Linked DNA regions of Homo sapiens: all the other regions are linked to region 1. The links are contacts of gene promoters, found by promoter capture Hi-C in blood cells and fetal thymus (Javierre and others, 2016). All regions are on one chromosome and are shown on one strand. The core of a region is centred on a gene start or on the middle of the fragment in contact, and the rest is flanking DNA. Distances in the headings are between cores, read along the strand shown. Region 1 holds the start of TMEM51-AS2 (TMEM51 antisense RNA 2). Region 2 overlaps EFHD2 (EF-hand domain family member D2). Region 3 overlaps FHAD1 (forkhead associated phosphopeptide binding domain 1).

What was found. Contacts are between HindIII fragments. The CHiCAGO score rates a contact against its expected background, and 5 or more counts as called.
Region 2: a fragment that was not itself captured here is called in contact with the fragment with the promoter of TMEM51-AS2 in region 1 in 1 of 17 cell types (endothelial precursors); the score reaches 5.1 in endothelial precursors.
Region 3: a fragment that was not itself captured here is called in contact with the fragment with the promoter of TMEM51-AS2 in region 1 in 4 of 17 cell types (monocytes, M1 macrophages, M0 macrophages and 1 more); the score reaches 8.0 in monocytes.

Annotation. Positions count from the first base shown.
Region 1 is chr1:15,169,595-15,173,163 of GRCh38, forward strand. It overlaps TMEM51-AS2 (TMEM51 antisense RNA 2), which reads right to left and starts at 2,030. Exons shown (of 3, transcript NR_167931.1): 1 at 2,017-2,030; 2 at 1,587-1,721. All of the region lies in intron 1 of TMEM51 (transmembrane protein 51), which reads left to right. RefSeq lists an enhancer at 2,550-2,719. The HindIII fragment of the contact is 7,186 bases long and covers 1-3,569 here.
Region 2 is chr1:15,413,813-15,417,381 of GRCh38, forward strand. The region is part of intron 1 of EFHD2 (EF-hand domain family member D2); the gene reads left to right. Among named protein-coding and RNA genes, the nearest start is that of EFHD2-AS1, 3.2 kb to the left of the region's middle. RefSeq lists enhancers at 2,495-2,994, 2,743-2,832 and a silencer at 3,201-3,495. The HindIII fragment of the contact is 6,712 bases long and covers 1-3,569 here.
Region 3 is chr1:15,312,110-15,315,678 of GRCh38, forward strand. It overlaps FHAD1 (forkhead associated phosphopeptide binding domain 1), which reads left to right. Exons shown (of 34, transcript NM_001391957.1): 8 at 948-1,078. Among named protein-coding and RNA genes, the nearest start is that of FHAD1-AS1, 30 kb to the right of the region's middle. The HindIII fragment of the contact is 8,292 bases long and covers 1-3,569 here.

The DNA of each region.
Region 1 (3,569 bases), core at 780-3,279:
ATTTCAGCAACCTGATTAAAAGATTTTTTCCCAGTTGAAATGTCTTCTTGTAGAAACAACCCAAATGTCCCATAAAAGCCTATGGTTTCTACAAGGTTATACAAGGGGAACACCACATGGCCATTCAACATGGCAATGACACAGAAGGCTCTGAAAGACATAGAAAGATGAGTCTAGTGTGCCAATGTAAAAAGGCAGATTACGAAGCTGTCCATTTTTTATTTCAAAATTCCCTAATACGCAAAGAATAAAAATTTGACTATTTACTATAATGTTTCTAATGTTTATTCCTAACAGATTACAAGTAATTTTTATTCCCTTTCTCCCTGTCTTCTCTTTTCTAACCTGTACTTTCTGAGTTTCCCACAGAGAAACATGTATGACTTTGTATTAAAGTAACAGCTTTAAGTTCAAATGGTCCTAATGATCTGGGTGACCTTGAGCCATGGCTCACTTTCTCGAAATGGGGAGAATAGTTTTAGGATGTTGTGAAGATTCAACTATAAATGTACTTAAAACAGTACATGCTCAATACATTTTTAGGTGTTACTGTCATAATTATTTTTGAAAATCTTTCCATTCTAGTAAGTCCATTCCAAATCCAAGCCAAACACACCTGAGAGTCGTGGGGCTTTATCTCAGAATGCCTGGGAGTACAGACCCATGAGCAAGCCAACTTCCTCCTTTCCCTCCTCTCCCCCGGCCCTCTGCTGCAGGGCAAGGTAAAGCTAGGTGCCTGGGATACTGCTGGGTTTTTTTTTATCTTTTTTTTTTTTTGAGATGGAGTCACTGCAACCTCCGCCTTCCAGTTTCAAGCGATTCTCCTGCCTCAGCCTCCTGAGTAGCTGGGATTACAGGTGCGCACCACCACGCCCGGCTAATTTTTGTATTTTTTGGTAGAAACGGGGTTTTGCCATGTTGCCCAGACTGGTATCAAACTCCCAGGCTCAAGTGATCTGCCCACCTCAGGCTCCCAAAGTGCTGGGATTATAGGCGTGAGTCACCACCACACCTGGCCTATTTTAACCATTTTTAAGTGTACAATTCTGGGACATTAAGCACATTTACAGTGCTGTGTGACCATCGCCACTGTCTTTTTTCCAGAACTACTACATCATCCCAAACAGAAATGGAGGCAGGTTTTCTTTTTTTGAGACGGAGTCTCCCTCTGTCGCCCAGGCTGGAGTGCAGTGTTGCGATCTCAGCTCACTGCAAGCTCCGCCTCCCGGGTTCATGCCATTCTCCTGCCTCAGCCTCCCAAGCAGCTGGGACTACAGGCGCCCTCCACCACGCCTGGCTAATTTTTTGTATTTTTAGTAGAGACGGGGTTTAACCGTGTTAATCAGGATGGTCTCGATCTCCTGACCTCATGATCCGCCCGCCTCGGCCTCCCTAGAGGCAGGTTTTCTAAATGCTTGCATGAGTGGTTCTCCATCTTCAGCTTGTGTTAGAATCCTCTGGGGTGGGGGGCTTGTTAAAACATAGATTGCTGGGTCCTCCCTCCTCCTCCACCCCCCGCCACATCCCCCACCCCCAGTTGCTGATTCAGTAGGTCTGAGTGGGGCCCCAGGATTTGCATTTCTAACCAGCTCCTGGGTGACGCTGATGCTGTTGATTTGGGGCCACGCCTGGAAGATCGCTGTTTGAGATCAAAAGGTTTGCAGGTCAGAGTGGATGACGGCATCCTTCCAGGTCAATGAGAGAAGCCAAACTTCTATGACCTATGAGATAAGGGGTTTGTTATAGGAATTAGTTCTTATGCATTCATAGGGGGGGCGGCAGAAAGGAAGGTGGAAGAGTTGCCGGGGACCAGGGGCATCGCCACCTGGCCCTGGGTACACGGGCAAACTGGTGGAGAAGTCTACAGCCAGCCGTTGTCTGGTCCATCCCCAGCCAAGTGTCCGCGGGGGGGCCTGGGCTGCTGTTGGTTAACAGGACCAGCAGTCAGGAGAAAGAGCTGGATGCAGAATGGAGGACAGGCTCGAATGTGCTGGAACCCACGGGGCTGTCTCTCACCTCATCCAATCATGATGACCTCTAAAGTGTAATGGTCGCTGCTTCACTTCCATCTCCCAGCTTTCCACAGATTCCTCTTTTGACCAATTATAACCCAGAACCAGTCAGAGAAGGGGATTCTGGGAAAAGTAGTTCCAGCTTAACCAAGCCCGCACAGCAGGAACTACCACAGCTGATCAATCAGTCCTTGCCGCGGAACCTCCTCCTTGAACCCACAGGTGGTTTCTGGGGCTCTGCTGGGCGTTCCCTGACTCTCTTGACAGGACCTTCTAGCAGAAACAGATGTGGTCCATCCCAACAACCCCTTGCTCAGATCATCAGCTGAGAACTTAATAAAAGCAGATTTCCAGGCCCCAGCCCAGGCCTGCCGAGTCAGACTTCAGCAGTGGGACTCAGGAATCAGATTTTCAAACAAGCTCTCTAGCTGATTAACATACCCAGCCACGTTTGAAACTTCTGAAGTATGGAAAAGAAAGTGGACTCTGTCCAGGCACAGTGGCTCACACCTGTAATCCCAGCACTTTGGGAGGCTGAGGCAGGTGGATCGCTTGAGCCCAGGAGTGCAAGACCAGCCTGGGCAACATGGCAAAACTCCATTTCTGCAAAAAAGAAAAAATACCAAAATTAGTGGAGCATGGTGACACGTGCCTGTAGTCCCAGCTACTTGGAAGGCTGAGGTGGTAGGGTCACCTGACCCTGGGAGGTCAAGGCTGCAGTGAGCCAAGATTGTGCCACTGCACCCCAGCCTGGGCAACAGAGTGAGTGAGACCCTGTCTCAAAAAAAAAAAAAAAAAAAAAGGAAGGAAGGAGGAGGGAGGGAGGAAAGAAAAGAATGGAAAGGAAGGAAGGAGAGAGAGAAAGAAGAAAAAAGAAAGAGAAGAAGGAGAGAGAGAGAGACAGAGACAGAAGAAAAAGGAAAAGAGAAAGTAAGTGAACTCTGGGGCTAGACAGCCACGGGTTAGAATTCTGGTTCCACCACGTGCCAGCTTTGTGATCCTGAGCAAGTGACTTAACCCTTTATGATCCTATATTGTCTACAAGAGTTCCTCCTTTTCTATCATTTCACTCTCCACTGTTTCAGTTACCCATAGCCAACTACAATCTGAAAATATTAAATGGAAAATTCCGGAAAGATATGATTCATAAGTTTTAAATTGCATCCCATTCTGAGTAGTGTGATGAAATCTCACACTGTCCCACTCTGTCCTGCTCCAGACGTGAATCGTCTCTTTGTCCAGCAGATGGGTGCTGTCGACACTACCTGCTCATTGGTCACTTAGGAGCGGTCTGGGTTATCAGATCAGAAAACGTCGTCGTTATGTGTAAGGTCGGGTGCTGTCTGTTGTTTCAGGCATCCACTGGGGGTCTTGGAACGTATCCCCCGAGGATATGTACTCAGCTGTTAAATGGGCTCAATGCCTACCTTTTTCATGGAGGGTTGTGGGAACCGAATGAGGCCATGTGTAATAAACTTCTGGCAGGTGAAATATTATTGTGCTTAATCCAGTTAATAGTTGTGCCTGGACATGCCTAGGGAGTAGGTCAGATGGGCC
Region 2 (3,569 bases), core at 1,070-3,569, 240 kb after region 1:
AGAGTTCTGGGCCAGTGCCAGGCACAAGGAGGCTCTGCGTCTCCCTGGCCCTCGCAGCCAGGACTCTCCATCCCCGTCTCCGTGCGGCCTCAGGCTACGTCCAGCATCTCTGATCCCCCAGCTGCTCCCTCCCTCTCTTTGCTCCTCCAGGGCTGGCTCTGGAACCCTCCTGTCAGAGAGGCAAAGAGAATGGCCCTGGAGAGCCTCGGGAGTGCCCACCCCTGGGCTGACAACAGCCTAGCGGGGGCTCTGGAGGGTTTTGTAAGTTGAGACCTGCTGGAAAGGTAGGCAGCCGTGTAATTCTGAACCTGCCGTGGAATCTGAGGACGATGCCCTAGATCCCTGTCTCCCGCCTAGCACAGCCTTGCAGGCCCTGTCCCCACTGTCATCCCCAGCCACTTCATCTCAGGACACCTTACGTCAGAGAGGCAGGCTTTCCTTTCCTTCTGGCCAGCTCTTCCCTGCACAAGCTCTGGAAGCCTCCCGCCCTCTTCTCCACACCTCCACCTCCAGGGGACACACCTCTCCCAGGAGCCCTTCCTGGACGCAGTCAGCAGGGCCTCTGGAGTCTGCAGCCCTGGGTTTGAATACAGCTGTGGGCTGTGGAGCCCTTCTGAGCTTCTGTTCCTCACGCTGGAACAGCGGGGACAGGGGGACCCACGTTACAGGGTTGTTGTATGGCGCTTAGCCCAGTGCTTGGCACAGAGCAAGTCGTTACTAAATGACTGTCACCGCCATCCCCAGCTCAGCATACACCCTCTCCTGGGCCCCTCATAGGGCCCTGGCAGTGGTCATTGCGGCTGGCTCAGAGGCAGCTCCACAGTGCCCACTGGCTGCCTCCACTTAACCACCAGCGGAGCTTCCAGGTCTGCCAGGTTGTCGACAACCCTTTGCTTTGGGCCCTAGTGACAGGACGCAGGGTTAGAGCCCTCCTTCTCTCCTGCTGAACAGCCACTCTGATTGACAGCTACATATGGCTTTGATAAATAACAAAAAGGGAGAAATGAATTCATTATCACCTAGTTTCAGGGAAGGCAGGTGGCACAAAAAAGGGGAGAGCAAACAACAGCTCTGGAGGGTGCACAATGGGGATTCCCGTCTGCCACCACCCAGCTGGGTTGCTCCAGGCAAGGGACTCAGCATCTCTGAGCCTCAGTTTCCCCTGGGGCTCAAGAACCTACCTGGTAAAGTTCTGAGGATTAGGTATAAAAACACCCTGAGTCTTTGTGACGAGCCCATCATGGTGTCTGGGCTGTTTGCATGATAGATGATGTTTTTGAAAAATACAAGGTTCTCGTATGTGATCATTCTTCCAACAGATATTAAGTTTTTGCGCTACAAGATCCAGAGAATTAAATGAATCAAGTTCCTGCCCTCAAGAGGCTTATAGCCTTATATAGAACAAACATGTATAGAGGTTTGGGGATAGAGAGGATTGCACCCACAAGGCTAGCAATGGAAGGTTTTTTTCTTTATTTCTGCCATGATTACCGAAAGCTCTCATGAATGACACCATGCTGATGTTCTCTTTGTAGCCAGCCCCCTGCCTCTGTGCCCCCTCCTTGTTAAACAGAGCCACTAGTTCTAGCCATTCCTGGAGGAGCCTATGCATATTATTTAGAGAACTGAATTGAATTCTCACACCAGCACAATGAGATTGATACTGTCTTTGTTTTCCTTTTTTTTTTTTTTTTGAGATGGAGTCTCGCTCTGCCACCAAGGCTGAAGTACAGTGGCATGATCTTGGCTCACTGCAGCCTTCGTCTCCTGGGTTCAAGTGATTCTCCTGCTTCAGCCTCCCAAGTAGCTGGGACTACAAGCACACACCACCATGCCTGGCTAATTTTTGTATTTTTGAGTAGAGACGGGATTTCACCATGTTGGCCAGGCTGGTCTCGAACTTCTGACCTCAAGTGATCTGCCCGCCTCAGCCTCCCAAAGTGCTGGGATTACAGACGAGAGCCACCGCTCCCAGCCTGATACTATCATTTTTATCCCCATTTGACAGATGAGAAGACTGAGGCTCAAGGCGATTGTCACTTGTCTAAGATTATATTAAGTGGCAGTGACAGGATTAGAACCAGATCCTCCTGCAAGGAGCCCCTGGAGGCCAAGTGAAGCCGTGTTTGTGGCTGGGGCTTGGGGGAGCCTCCGAGAGCCTTAGAGAGGTGGAGAGGTGGGGTCCTTCACCTGCAGCTTAGGGTCAGTGGGTGGGGAGAATGCCCTGCACCCCTGGGGAGGAAGGATTTCCTGGCCTCGGTCCTTACTCCGTTCCTCCCACTTCCACTATGCATCAGCCTCTGAGTCACCTCTCCTTCCCCACACCCCCGGCCCAGGACTTTTGGTTCCTCTTTGGTCCACCCTTCCTGCCTTCTCCGGCTTCCTCGCTCTCCTCCATGCTACCTGGGTCCAAGGCCTGGTGGCTTGGACTGGCTTCCACTGTGAGAGTCTAGGCTCCAGGACAGCAGGCCTTGCTGCCTCAGGGGATGTCAGAGGTCGTTTCCTCAAGGCCAGCCCTGCCGGCAGAGGCAGAGTCACTTTGCAGCCTCAGCAGGGAAGGTCCCCACACCCTGGAGCAGCTGAGTTCCCCTGACTGCCGGGCAACCTTCTCCTTGGCTGACTTCTGCTTTTCAAGGACAACAGAGAGGCAGGGGTCAGTGCCAGAAAGGTGTGGCCAGATGGGAGCCGGGCCGCCCAGGGAGTCCTGAGCCACAGACACTTCAAACCAGATGCTTTGCCTCCCGTTCAGTCCTTTCTTATCCTGCAACATTATCCTCGCCCATTTCACAGTTAAGGAGGCTGGACTTTCAGAAGGGTTATGTGACTTGTCCAAAGTCACATAGCCAGTGAGGGGCAGAATAGGATTTGAACCTGGGCCTCCCCGGCTCCAAGTCCTCTGAACCCTTACAGTGGCCCAAACACCAGCAGCTTCACCGCCCGGGAGTATGTTAGAAATGCAGATGCTCAGATTCCACCCCAGATTTACCAGACTGTAATCTGCAATTTTTTTTTTTAAGAGACAGAGTCTTGCTCTGTCACTCAGACCAAGTGCAGTGGTACGATCATAGCTCACTGCAGCCTCAACTTCCTGGGCTTAAGTGATCCTCCCACCTCAGCCTCCTGAGTAGCTGGGACTACAGGCACATGCCACCACATCCAGCTAATTTTTTTTTATTTTTGTAGAGATGGGGTCTCATTATGTTGCTCAGACTGGTCTCAAACTCCTGGCCCCAAGCCACCCTCCCACCTCATCCTCCCAAAGTGCAGGGATTACAGGCATGAGCCACCACGCCCAGCCCATAATCCGCACTGTAACCAGCTTCACCAGGTGTGCACACTGACGTTTAAGAAGCGCTAAGCCTCGGCTCAGGCCCCCGCACAGCCGTCTCCCCACCACTTCCTGAGGTTGACCTAAGGTTATCCTTAGGTGGGTGACTTTGTCTGAGCTGTAAGAGGATAAGATGTATGGAGTAAAGATTAAGTTACGTTATAAACACTGGGTTATGTTAATATTAGGCATTCAATAAATATTCTTTATAATCACTATCATAACAATAATGACTATGAAG
Region 3 (3,569 bases), core at 350-2,849, 140 kb after region 1:
CTTTGATGATTCACCCTGGGAAGTCACATTCACCACTTCCACAGTGCCATATGAGTTACACACGTCAGCCCTATTCAGGTGGGAGGGGGCTACACGAGGCCAGGTATTCTAACAGGCAGGGATCATGGGGGCCATTTTGCAAGCTGGCTACCACATATACTTGTGGGTGGCAGGGAATAAACACTATGTGTTAGCCACTCTACTATGTTCTTTATACAACTCTGTAGATACAATGAGAGGTTAAATAACTTCTTCAGACCACTAAGCTAGGCTGGGCATTGTGGCTCACATCTGTAATCCCAGCACTTTGGGAGACAGAGGCTGGTGGATTGCTTCAGCCTGGGAGTTTGAGACCCGCCTGGGCAACATGGGCAAAACTCCATGTCTACAAAAAATACAAAAATTAGCCAGGCATAGTGGCACGTACCTGTAGTCCTAGCTACTTGGGAGGCCAAGGCAGGAGGATCGCCTGAGTCCAGGAGGTCGAGGCTGTAGTGAACCATGATCGTGCCACTGTACTCCAGCCTGGGTGACAGAGTAAGACCCTGTCTCAAGAAAAAAGACGACTGAGCTAGTAAGTGCTAGAGACGGTTTCCAAACTCAGATGAGTGTGAATCAACACGTCCCTTGCTGCCACAGGCCCATGTCGTGGCCCCTCCTGGTCCCTCTCTCTGCTGAGCCTTTGTTCCCAGGCAGGGCCGATGCCCACAGCACCCCGACAGATGTTTCCTGTCTCCAGCAACACGCACTGACTGACCTCTCCTTCTCACTGGGACCTTGAACAAATGATGTGCAGTGGATATTGGTCTCAACCCCATTCAAGCTCCTGGGATCCTTGGAGACACCTCCCTTCTCAGTGCCAGGCTCGTCACAAACTGGTTGACAGCGGCAGCGATGACAGTCATCCTCACTGCCTCTTTGACCTCTGCGAGTCTTCTTTTTTACAGGGATGGTGTCATCTTTGCAAAAAGACATATTAGCAAAGGATGAGCAAGTTCAACAACTAAAGGAAGAGGTCAGTCACCTAAAAAGTCAGAACAAGGACAAGGACCACCAGCTGGAAGCCCTTGGCTCTAGAGTGAGTAAGGATGACTGCGTCACCTTGTAGCCATCCGGTGAAAAGCAGCTAAAGTGAAGTCACGTGATATGCTTGTTTCATTCACCCTGGGCCCTTAGTTTAAATTTCATTCCTTCCTCTCACACCATTGTGCTGGGGGCGGGGTGGTGGGGGGGTGGGCGTTGGGGGCAAAACATGAAATGCCTACCTAGAAAAACTAAAACAGCTGGCCACATTCTTTGCACCTTTTCAAAGATCGGCGTGCACGTGCCCCAGAATAAGCAAGATGTAGCTTCAACTCCAGGAAACATTTTCTAATGCCCATTATAAATGAGTTTGGTTAATTCCAGCAGTAAATGCACCTCTCAGCTTGGCTATTTCCATGGCAAGGCTTAATATTAAAGCAGAATAGAATCACTGCATGCAAAAGAGGACACGGTGGGCTTCCCCTCATCCCAGTAACCACTGGTTTGCACAGTCACCTTCGAAGCAGAATGTTTGCAGGCCCAAGTGCAGTTAGACAGACTTTCATTTCTTCCCTTAGACTTTAGTGTGGGTAAGAATATTCTGTGTGGAGTGAACCTGGTAGGCAAGTCAAGAGCTGTTTAAAAGTAATTTTGAGGCCAGGCACGGTGGCTAATGCCTGTAATCCCAGCACTTTTGGGAGGCCGAGGCTGGTGGATCACACGAGATCAGGAGTTTGAGGCCAGCCTGGCCAACATGGTGAAAATCTGTCTCTGCTAAAAATAACAAAAATTAGCCAGGCGCCTGTAATCCCAGCTACTCAGGAGGCTGAGGCAGGAGAATAGCTTGAACCTGGGAGGCAGAAATTGCAGTGAGCTGAGATCGCGCCATTGCACTCCAGCCTGGGCAACAAGAGTGAAACTCCGTCTCAAATAATAATAATAATAATAATAATAATAATAATAATAATAACTATTTGCAAAATGTACCTCAATGCTCTGACTTTAGAATCCTGAACCTATAGGATTTCTCAGTATTTGTGAGATGTGTCTGTTTCGGTGAGTCAAGGTAAAACCTAACAGCTTTCATCTCAGGTGTGCCTGAAGAGTTCGCCAAGTCTGCATGGGCACCCAGGCAGGGTGGATCTGGGGGTCCAAGGATGAAGCAGCAGTAGTGACCTCTGGCTCTGACCGCAGTGCCCCAACTGGAGCTGGGGAAAGGCAGGACAGGAGCCCCGGGGGCACACAGACCAGGGTCCGAGCCCAGAGTGGGCTTTTGTTATAACTGATGTGGCCTCCCCTTTGTCATCAGCGAAATGGGAACAACAAAATCAGTTTTGAGAAGTGAGAGGCCGGTTTGCATTGTGCGCTTCCGCCTCTGCGGCTGGTTAGCCCGCCTCGCCCAGCCCTCTGCATCCGTCCCCCGAGCAGGGTCACCGCCTGGATTACATGTGTTGTCGCCCTTTCAGGTGTGTGGGTATGTGGGTGTGGGTGTGAGGATGTATGTGGGTGTGTGGGGGTATGGATGTGTGGTGTGGGGGTGAATGGGTGTGTGGGGATGTGGATGTGTGTAAGTGTGTATGGGTGTGTGTGGATATGGGTAGGTGTGTGTGTGAGTGTGGTGTGTGGGGGTGTATGGGTGTGTGGGGGTATGGATGTGTGGTGTGGGGGTGAATGGGTGTGTGGGGGTGTGGATGTGTGTAGGTGAGTGGGTGAGGGGGCGTGTGGATGTGTGGGTGTGGTGTGGTATGGGGGTGCGTGTGGGGTGTGTGGGGTGTGTGGATGTGTGTCGGGGCTGTAGAGCTGATGTTAGGTGGGAGAAATACGGAGAAACAGCAGCTCCGGAGCTCTTCTGCCCACGAAGTGCATTTGGGTTACTTGTGTCCCCATTTCCCTTCCCCGTTGACCTTGGAACAGGTCTGCCTTCTTCTCCAGGCCGCACCTGGCGTTCATCAGCACGTGGGCTCCTCGTGACCAAGGGTATTGCTCATGTGAACATCCGAATGACTGTCTTTATTTTTCAAATTACATGTGCTGTGTTAATTTTAGAATAAAAAGTAGATAAAACTGGAGAGCAAAATTAAAGAGAGAAGAGAAATGCCACCGCCAAGAAATCTATGTCAGTACTTGAGTGCATATTCCTTCTGTTTTGTTTCTAAAATTACCTGGAAAAAATATATCTGTAACAGATATATAACAACAAATTTACACTATATACATTTTTTAAACTTTAAACAATTACTGTTTCCTCACATGGATAAGAGCTTTTCTCATGGGTCTTTAAAGCTCCATGACATTCTCTTGTCTGTGCACAATGGAATCAAACAGCCCCGGGTTATCGGACATGGGTGTTTCCTTTTTTTTTTTTTTTTTTGAGATGGAGTCTCACTCTGTCACTCAGGCTGGAGTGCAGTGGCGCGATCTCAGCTCACTGCAAGCTCTGCCTCCCGGGTTCACGCCATTCTCCTGCCTCAGCCTCCCAAGTAGCTGGGACTACAGGCGCCCGCCACCACACCTGGCTAATTTTTTTGTATTTTTAGTAGAGACAG